3 separate regions of the Homo sapiens genome follow, and regions 1 and 2 are each linked to region 3. Evidence: promoter capture Hi-C in human tissues and cell types (Jung and others, 2019). All regions are on one chromosome and are shown on one strand. The core of a region is centred on a gene start or on the middle of the fragment in contact, and the rest is flanking DNA. Distances in the headings are between cores, read along the strand shown. Region 1 overlaps HDLBP (high density lipoprotein binding protein). Region 2 overlaps SEPTIN2 (septin 2). Region 3 holds the start of PDCD1 (programmed cell death 1).

Evidence for each region. The method cuts DNA at HindIII sites, captures the fragments that hold promoters and counts their contacts. A contact is called where the count stands out against the background at its distance.
Region 1: a fragment that was not itself captured here is called in contact with the fragment with the promoter of PDCD1 in region 3 in 1 of the 25 tissues and cell types used here (lymphoblastoid cells).
Region 2: a fragment that was not itself captured here is called in contact with the fragment with the promoter of PDCD1 in region 3 in 1 of the 25 tissues and cell types used here (lymphoblastoid cells).

What each region holds. Positions count from the first base shown.
Region 1 is chr2:241,307,156-241,310,411 of GRCh38, forward strand. All of the region lies in intron 1 of HDLBP (high density lipoprotein binding protein), which reads right to left. Among named protein-coding and RNA genes, the nearest start is that of HDLBP, 6.9 kb to the right of the region's middle. RefSeq lists an enhancer at 2,249-2,750. The HindIII fragment of the contact is 9,441 bases long and covers 1-3,256 here.
Region 2 is chr2:241,323,422-241,326,810 of GRCh38, forward strand. SEPTIN2 (septin 2) reads left to right here. Exons shown (of 13, transcript NM_004404.5): 2 at 795-820; 3 at 2,572-2,692. The coding sequence starts at 812. Among named protein-coding and RNA genes, the nearest start is that of SEPTIN2, 9.2 kb to the left of the region's middle. The HindIII fragment of the contact is 3,359 bases long and covers 1-3,188 here.
Region 3 is chr2:241,857,213-241,860,672 of GRCh38, forward strand. PDCD1 (programmed cell death 1) reads right to left here and starts at 1,682. Exons shown (of 5, transcript NM_005018.3): 1 at 1,551-1,682. The coding sequence starts at 1,626. It overlaps LOC124908032 (a long non-coding RNA gene), which reads left to right and starts at 1,860. Exons shown (of 2, transcript XR_007088436.1): 1 at 1,860-2,865. RefSeq lists an enhancer at 888-1,850. The HindIII fragment of the contact is 28,999 bases long and covers 1-3,460 here.

The sequences.
Region 1 (3,256 bases), core at 374-2,873, 550 kb before region 3:
ATATCCTGCCTTCTGTACCTAAGACAGCAAGTACTGCTGCAGGTCTCACAAGGTCTACCTCAAGAACTTCTGAGACTACAACAGAGGGAAAAGGCAAGCCCTAGAGTGGATCTGAAAAACGCTTATTTGAAAGAATTCATCGAGACTGCTCACGCCACTTGCTGACTGTTGACTTTGACATCAGCCACTTCTTACCTCTTCCTGCCCCAGGAGAGACCTGCGGTCATAGCACTGGGGTCTCTGGGATACAGCTAAGCCTCCTGAGAGACTGGAATGGGATGGGTAGGGGCTACACGAATAATGGTTTAATTAACATTGACAGTATTAATAGATTAATACTGCAGTGGGCTTGCTGTAGTGATGGTCTACCAAGGAACTTGATTTTTTAGCTTTAAAAATATTCTAAAAGATAACTCAACAAAACAATGTAAAAACTGGCAACCCCCCCATGAGGCTTTACCAAAAAATATATTCTAAACTGTATCTTCAAAACTGTAATTTTAATTATACTTTAATTATAATTTTAATACATGATTTAAATAAAAATAGGATCTTACATGCATTCTTTCACCATCTGCTACACTTATTTTCATTTGAAAAGACACCATGGCCATCTTTCCGAGTACCAAATACAAATTTACCTCATTTGTTAACAACTACATGTTGAGTGGAGTAAACATACCTTAATAAATCCCCTACTGATAGGACCCTTGAACTAATTTTTTTTTTTTTTTGCGATTATAAACAATGCTGGAAAGAACATCCTCTGCTCACTTGGGCCTCTACCCCCACAGGATAAATTGAATTGGAAATGGAATTATATGATGACAGGCAATGCATTGATAGATATTGCCAAGGTAAAACTGCCCACCTCCCAAAGAGTTTAACTAGTTACACTCACAACACCTGATTACAGAATACCTGTCCTCTTCTCCTTTGAGGACAACTAAAATGATCATGTTTATTCTTTTTTCCAGCCTGATGTGCGGGAAATACGATTTTAATGGCAACTCTGATCATCAGTGAGACAGCAATCTTGTTGAGCTTATTGACCTTTTGAATTTCTGTACTGTGAAGATCAAACTAATCACAACCAATCCGTCGTCCACCTTTCTACCAGTGTTTCAGCAACGCTTGTGAGACAAAGCAAAATCCACATCTGGGCAACAGAGCAGTAGGAATGAACAGAAAGAATTATAAATTTAAGTGAAACTCAAGTTGTATGCCAAAAATAACATTCCTAAAGGGCACCCAGGCAAAAGTGATGAGAAAATACTATTAAAAAGGACATCTTTTGCCTCAATTAGTCACACAGTAGACAACGTAAGCTGATGACCTGAGACACCTCAGCCTGCCAAAGTTCCGTTTCATTCACAAACATTAACCTACTCTGCTTTAAGAGAAGGGCTCCCCCAAAAGGTAATTGTGCTTGCAGAAAAGCGTCAAAGTGTATACTGTTTTGCGGGGTATGCAGACCTGGGTAGATGGTAGACTGAGGCTGACTGACAAGGCCAGGTTAGGGAAGCAGTGAAGTAGCTGAAGGCACAAACTGGAGCCAAACCACTAACTCTAGCCTTTGCCTCAGGGTCTACCTCGACCTGTGATAACAACAATACTTGCCTCCTACAGGTGACAGGAAAAGTAAGAAATGTCGTGAATGGTGTGGCCCATGGTCACTTCACCACGATCCACCACCAGTACTGGGTCACTCTGCTCCAGCTCTCCAAAGGCATCAAGATCCGACTGCTAGGAGCCCCGGCTTCTTCCCTGACCTGCCCGTCTCCTACACCCTCTGGTCCTGCTCCACACTGGTCTAATAACTGGTGTTCCACATTCCTCTAACGTGCACAACACAGTCCTGCCCCCGTGCTTTTCACCTCCTGTCCATTCCTCTTATAACGCTCTTCCCCAGATCGCTGCCCATGGCTTGTTTGCTCATCTCAAGTTTGAATCAACTGTCGCTCAATCAGCAAGGCCTCCCCACTATGCCAAACTGCCACTGTGTCCCCCACTCCACTCCCCTCGATACTTTATTTTCCTCCTTTCTTCTTGTCCACATTGGACATACTGCATATCTGCTGGTCTGCTGACTGCCTGACACCGCTTACCAAAACGTGACCTCCGTGAAAGTGCAGGAGAACACACTTGCATTTTCCTTACTGTGTCCCACTTCCTGGAACAGTGTCTCCAGCACGAGCCGTTGTCAGATCAATACATTTACACTACTTCGTGAAGCACCACTAAAATGATAGTAAACGATTTTTTCTTTTTTTAAGATACAAATCACGAAAGCAAAGAATAAGAATAGAGATAAGAACATTAAAATACTGGAGGCTAGAAACTGGAAACAGACCTAAAAGGGCTGAATCCTGTATCGGCAATGGGGAAGGCCAACTGGCAATATGACTGGAAGCCAGGAGACCTGAATTAAAAACAGAGTTGGCTGATAGGTTTAAAAGGCACGAAGATCCCTAAGATGCACCCCACAACTCTGCACAGCCACACAGAGCCAACCTGCACAGTCCCTCTCCTATCCTGGCAAAAAGGTATCGCTTTTCTGTCTGCAAAGGGAAGTAGAATCTTTGGACTGGGGACACCAGTTACAGAGGAGGGAAACAATTCTGAAAAGAGGGAAGTAAGCTCTTTTATGGTTACTGCTGTGCTCCCAGGCCTCTCTCCTCACTTGGCCACTCAGCCAGGCAAAGGGCTACAAGATATTTCTCTGGGGAATCTGAAGAAACCCAAAGAAGCTGACAAGGGTGCTGTAAGGAAATGGCCCAGCCAGGTGCCTCTGCAGTGAAAGCCACAGTCAGCCACAGACACAGGCTCAGAGGCCCTCTGACTCACGAGCAGGCACAAGAACATCACTGCATAGCCCAGAAAAGGCTGACAAAAGCCAAAAACCCACAACAAACCAGAGCAGCCTCAATAGTGACTTAAGGAAAAAGAAAACAGGGAAAAATAAAACCTCATCAATATCTTCCAACAGTTAACAGGAGATACCACATTCATGAAACAAAAAATAGGTTATAAAATAGGAATAGAGGGAACAAGAAAAAGCTCTTAGAAATGAGAAAAACCTTGGTAGAAGGGCTGGAAGACAAACTTGAGAATAACTTCCAGAAAGAAAATGAAAAACCAAAGGGTACAAAACATCAATTAGACAGGAGGAATGTGGTTTTCTTTTATGAGATATATTGTACAGCACGGTGAATATAGTAAATAATAATGTCGATTTCAAAAGTGCTGACAGTAA
Region 2 (3,389 bases), core at 259-2,758, 530 kb before region 3:
CTGAATCAGTATTTTTAGTAGAGATGGGGTTTCACCATGTTGGCCAGGCTGGTCTTGAACTCCTGACCTCAAGTGGTCTGCCTACCTCGGCCTCCCAAAGTGCTGGAATTACAGGCGTGAGCATCACGTCTGGCCTAATTTTTTTAATCGAATTTATTTTTGTAATGATAGATGCTTGTCTTATTCCTAGGGAAATATTTGAAGTAATTGAGATGCTGTCACCTAAAATAATCAAAAGGCTCCTGATTCAGTTAAAAGAATTCATTTAAGTACAGAGTGTAAGCGAGCTACACCAAAGAATGGTGATTAGCGCTCCCAGGGTGGGGAAAAATGAGGATTGTTTATATAGGCAAAATGGAGGTGCCAAACAGAATTATAACATTTTCGGAACTAAGGCTCATTTAAAGATACAAATTTGATTGGCTACTATTGATTACACTTGAAGGGATTTGTTTAACTTCCTTTTGTAAAGAAGTAACAGTCATAAGGATCTCTCATCTCCCAGTCATTTAGTCTAGTTTTGAATAAAGAATAGGGGGTCTGGTTAATATATACATCTAAACACAAAAGTCAGAAAGAATAAAAGTAGTGATGTTACACGAGCCAGCTGTCAGTGCTTAACTTTTCCCTTTGGCCTAATGCATTTGGAAGGTCCTGAAATTGTATTTTCTTTTTACATTGCCTATGTATGTGTAAGTCTTCTTCAGGTCAGTTCACGCTGTTAAATATACGTGCGTATACATACATACTATGTATGTGCGTTTATGTGTGTCTGTGTGTTTTTTTTTTAACAGACGAAGCTTCACAAAAGATGTCTAAGGTAAGATCATACTTCATGTATCTACAGCATAAGGAGAAATTGCTTTATGTTTTCAGACTGTTGACAGTCGGGACTTATATGATTCATTATTTTTAATACAACTGATACATTTGATTCATTAACACAAAGAGTTCTAATTTAGTTGTCTTTTTTTTTTTTTTTTTGAGACGGGAGTCTTGTTCTGTCACCAGGCTGGAGTGCAGTGGCATGATCTCAGCTCACTGCAACTTCTGCCTCCCACGTTCAAGCGATTCCCCTGGCTCAGCCTCCGGAGTAGCTGGGACTGCAGACACGTGCCACCACGCTGGCTAATTTTTTGGATTTTAGTAAATTCGGGGTTTCACCGTGTTGGCCAGGATGGCCTTGATCTGTTGACCTCGTGATCCACCCGCTTTGGCCCCCCGAAGTGTTGGGATTACAGGTGTGAGCCACCGTGCCTGGCCTAATTGTCATCTTAAAAGCTTGGAGCTTTCTCTTTTTTCAGGCTTCTACTTTCTTTTCTCTACACACATCAGTAACAGTCCTTTTGGCCCCCTTAGTTCATTCCCAGCAGACCAGATAATTTAGAATTCTGATAATTTATTATGATGAAATTGATGGGGCTCTTAGACTTGATAAATTGGTTTAAATCAGCCTTTGCAAGTTAGTTCAGAGATAAATTAGTGCTAAAGAACATATTCTGAGAAAAGCAGAACTTGTGGTTAACATTGCAAGATTATTATTTCTGTTTTTTTTTTATCTTTGAATCCTGTGGGTGTTCATTACTGTCCAATGCAAAATCATCATACCAGTTTTTGCATTTTATACCAGTGTTAGCATGGAACACAGATAAGCAAAAAAAAAAGTCATTATTTCACCACTCAGGAATAACCACTGTTAATATGTTACATATATTCTTTTTCACCTGTGTGTGCATTTGACTATACATTTACAAAATGTAATCCTAAAGGAAATACTATTTTGTATCTTGCCTTTTTCAATTAATAAATTGATTTTTAAAATTTCTTCTCATTTTCAGTATGCCACTGTCTAGATTCTGGTTACTTCTGCTATTCTTGCCTTCTCATATCTCTGTCCTCTCTCTCATCAGATACCCTTCTGTCAAGGAATATTGATGCTTCAGTGTAGTCATCTATGATCTTCTCATTCTGTCTTTTCTTTCTTGGTCTTTGACACTAGATACTCAACATCCCACCCCTAATTTGCCTGCCTCACCCTTGATGAAACTCTGTTCTATAGAGCTAGAAGCACAGCAAGAGAGATGCTTTTTTCCTCGATACTTTTCAGAAATGCATTGCACCTAATACCTGGGAGAAGCTATTCTTTAGCCAAGTTTGTTGAATGAAACCATTCATTCAAAGTACTGTCAGCTGTAGCAGTACTTTGTAAGCTTGACTGATTTTCCTGGAACTCCATAGTCTCTCAAGTCGAAATTTGAAATTGCATTAAGATGTATTAAGCATGTATCTTCTATGTATTGTTAAATTCCTAAACAGAATACTGATTAACAAAATGTTAATTTTCAGTCGCATACAACTAAGGAGTTATACTAGATAAGTTTTTCTTTTTTTAATGCTCCTAGTTGAATACTACTGGTTTTCTGATAGAAGTATGACCTTCTGGAAGTGTTTATACTTTTTAAAAAATTTGTGAAAACTGATAACCTATGTTTGTTTCATGTCTAACTGATTATATCTTAAAAGCAACTACTAAGGTGTTTATTAGTTTGTTTGTTTTTTAATCTTATTTAGCAACAGCCAACTCAGTTTATAAATCCAGAAACACCTGGCTATGTTGGATTTGCAAACCTCCCCAATCAAGTTCACCGAAAATCAGTGAAAAAAGGTTTTGAGTTCACACTGATGGTGGTCGGTAAGAAATTAATCTATAGTCTCCAACTTACTAAATAAATATCTCCCCTTTCCAATCTCTGGAGTATGATAACGTGACCTATAAAGAAAGAGGAAAATTTGGCAGAGTCAAATAACTTGAGAATTTGAACAAATATATGTGTATTCATTAGAAAATTTTTCTCAGGAGCAAAATTATTTTTCTGTCACTTTCTTATTTATATGTAGTGAAAGTTTACTCATTGTGTCAGCTAGGCTCCAAAATGGCCCCCAGTGATTCTTATCTCCTGGTATTCACAACTTTCTTGTCCCTTCCTGCATTGAATAGGGTTTTACCTGTGTAGCCAGTAGGACATTGTGGAGATGAAAGTGTTGTCATTTTCTAAGACTAGGTCATAAAAGGCATTATGGCCCCCCACCTTGCCTCTTCTCAAATTACTCACTCTGGAGGAAGCCAGCCCTTCCTGCATTGAATAGGGTTTTACCTGTGTAGCCAGTAGGACATTGTGGAGATGAAAGTGTTGTCATTTTCTAAGACTAGGTCATAAAAGGCATTATGGCCCCCCACCTTGCCTCTTCTCAAATTACTCACTCTGGAGGAAGCCAGCTGTCATGTCAAGAGAACACTCAAGCAGCCTTACAGGGAAGCCCACCAAGTAAGGAACCAAGGCCTGCCAATGGCTGTGTAAGTGACCCGTTTCAGAAATATCCTCCAGGCC
Region 3 (3,460 bases), core at 432-2,931:
GGCCGGGGTGGCCACATCTGGGTCAGGACCCACAGGACCCCAGTCATGCCCACTGCGCCTTGCTGAGTGCCCTGTGCTGTTACCAGTGGGGAAACCGAGGCATGCCACCTGTGAGAGTCTTGTCCGGCACAAGCGCGGGCACCTGAGGCACGAGTGTCAGGCTGCGGACACCTTGCTCTTATCTTTCCCGCCTGGGTCGGGGAGGGTGGCGTCCCGAGGGCGTGCCTGAAGAGCCGGGACACGGGGGGAGAGGCTCGGCTCCCCTCCTGCCTCGCTCAGCTCCCCCTCCCCTGTGACGAGCGCCCCTCTGCCCTCTGGTTCCCCCGCAGTCGTCTCCCTGGGATGCCTTTTGGCCCTTTGCTCTTTGCCTTTTGCCCAGAATCTCCAGTTCTGAGTCCTGAGTGACCCACGGGCCAACCTTAAGAGGTGGCGCTGAGGCAGGAAGGCACGGCCCTGACAAGGATGCTGCCTCAGGTGCCGGGGAGCAGGCCCCGGGAGAGGGGCCGAGGTGGGGAACCCCCAGTCGCCTGCCACAGTGAAGGGGCACCAGGACCCCCGGGGCAGGAGCCTCGAGGGGGTGTCAGGGCGGCCCCAGGGGTGCCCCTCATCTTGTCCTCCCAGTGGTGTCACACCCCGGTACCCAGCAGGGCCCAGAGGGACTGTCTTAGGCTTGGCCTGGGTGAAACCACCCTCCCCAGGCCTTGGCATCCCCAGGTGCAGGCTGGCTGGGCACAGAGGGCCAGCCGGGCACAGAGGGTCCAGGAGCGGGCTGTGGTCACAGTGTACACAGAGGGCCCAGGGTCACGGGCAGCCCAGGAAGAGGCTCCCTCTCTCCTCGATCCGGGAGAGTGAGGCCAAGGCCTCCCCCACGGATGGTCTGAACAGGGCTCGGGGAGAGCCCTGGAATCTGGGCAGAGACCCAGGCGGGCACAATCCCCACCCAGGAGGGATCCTGGAGACAGAAGAACTGTCCTCACTCGAACAGGTACACTTTGGATATAATGAGAAAAATATCACCAGCTCATCTAAACTTTGACGTCGTAAAGCCAAGGTTAGTCCCACATGGGGCTCATCCCATCCTTAGGAAAACTCGAGTGAGGACCAAGGATGCCTGGGCAAGGCAGAGCCGCCACGCAGACTCCCCACGGCCAAGGTTTGGGGTTCTGGCCAGCCTGACCCGTCATTCTACAGAAACACGCAGCCCCAAGGACCGGCTGAGAGGGGACAGAGGTCCTGCCTGCCCAGGAGCAAAGAGGGGACTTGGGCCAGGGGAGGAGTTGGGGCCCAGAGAGGAACCCAGGAGTTCGAGCTGCCCAAAGCCACACAGCTCAGGGTAAGGGGCAGAGCTGGGGGCCAAGGCTGGGCCTGCCACAGCACCCCCCGACCTGCCAGGGACTGAGAGTGAAAGGTCCCTCCAGACCCCTCGCTCCGGGACCCCTGGGCTGCCAGGGCCAGGCCCGCCTCAGCACCCCCCGACCTGCCAGGGACTGAGGGTGGAAGGTCCCTCCAGACCCCTGGCTCTGGGACACCTGACCGCCGACCCCACCTACCTAAGAACCATCCTGGCCGCCAGCCCAGTTGTAGCACCGCCCAGACGACTGGCCAGGGCGCCTGTGGGATCTGCATGCCTGGAGCAGCCCCACCAGAGTGCCGCCTTCTCCACTGCTCAGGCGGAGGTGAGCGGAAGGGAAACTGTCCCAGGTCAGGTTGAAGGGAGGGTGCCCGCCCCTTGCTCCCGCCCCCTCTTCCTCCACATCCACGTGGGCGAGAGTGACAGAGGCAGTGCTGGGGGAGGAGGGGTGAGGAGGGGGTAGGACTGGGGAGAGGGTGGGGGAGGGAGAGAGAGACAGAGACAGGGAGACAGAGGAGATGGGGAGGAGGTGGGCCCGTGGCCCCCACGCCCTACCCCGTGGGGGTCTCCCCAGCTCAGGGCCCCTTCCTCCTCTGTGTCTCTGCTCACTGCTGTGGCCTCTTTCCATATCCCGCCCGAGCTGCCCCTCCTGAGGCTGCCGGGTGGGGGCAGGCCCTTCTCCTCCCCCATCCCCCCCATCTCCCTGGGGGCCGGGCCTCCCTGCCTGGGGAAGGTGGGTGGCCCCCTCTGGGCTCAGGTTCCTGGGCTGCAGTGAGGGGTGGGCTCAACCCCACTCCCATTCTGTCGGAGCCTCTGGGAGCCTCCCGGCTGCCCACAGCCTCTGCCCCTGCTGGGGGCAGGTGCCTGGCCTCTGCCTTCCCGGCCCATCCCCCTTCGCTGGGGCACAGGTGACCCTACTGAATGACAACTGTCCATGGCTAATCGGCTCCCCCTCAAAGCTTCCACCTTGTGGATGGCCTCACACCATGGCCACAGTTCCAGATCTTTCCACCGTGTGATGCCTGCAACAGCCTGACGGGGGGGCTGGGGCGGTGGCAGGGGCTGGCTGTGAGGCTGACCTCCCCTTCCAGCCTTGACCTTCTTCCCCGGGGCCCTGCCCTCCAGCCCACTCGTGCCAGGGTGGGGTGGTTCAGGGGGTCCAGTGCCTGGGCCTGGCTGGCGGCCCGGCGTTTGTGAAATGGCTTGCTTATCTCCTTGTATTCTGTGCTGAGCATTTTATTACAGCGAATGGAAAACAGGAGAAATGAAACTGCTGATATTAGTGATGAGATGCGTCAGGCTCATCAGCTTAAAATAACCGAAGCGAGGCTAGAAACCGCCTGACAGCTGGCGCGGCTGCCTGGCTCCGAGAGACACTCGGCCCGGCTCTGAAGGGAAAACATTAAAGCACCGAAACAGTGGAAAAAGAGCATCAAAGATGATGTCTGCGAGGCGCGGCCACGGCGAGGAAGCTCTCGTTTATGAACAAAGGGCCACTCCCGGGTCTCAGAGATGTGAGGCTGTGTGGGTGGCTTGGTGGGGAGGTGGGGGGGGCCCAGCTGGCCAGGTGGGCTTGGCGGGGGGCCCCCAGGGAGCCTGGCAGCACCCACTGTGCTGCCAGACAGCTAAGGTGGCCCGCAGCAACTGTCTCCTGGCACACCCACCCTTGTGCCTCAGGGGCTGGGGCTCTGGGGCTGGAGAACTGTTGGTTGGTAGGTGCCTCCATAGCCCTGTGCCTCGCCCAGGCAGTGGATAAGTGGCTAAGCTGCCCCTGCTGGCTGTACTTGTCCTGAAGGCAGATTCTGGACAGAACCTCCCTCTGCCCCCAGCCCTGTAGAGCCTTGTTCCAACCTCTGTTGAATGCTGTCTCTGTTCCAGGGCAGCAGTGGGCCTTCCTCAAGGCTCTGAGCTTTGTGGGACGAAGCTGTCCTCTGAGGACTGGGAATGCCACTGTGTGGGCTGGAGGGGAGGCTGGGCCCAGGAGGTGGGCTCTGAGATGGGAGATGCTATCAGACCCCTGGAAGGTCTCCTCACCACCAAGGCCCTGCCCCCAAAATTCCACCTGCCAGGGCTTGGACACATGTCCTGGAGTAGGGGGCGGGCACAGGG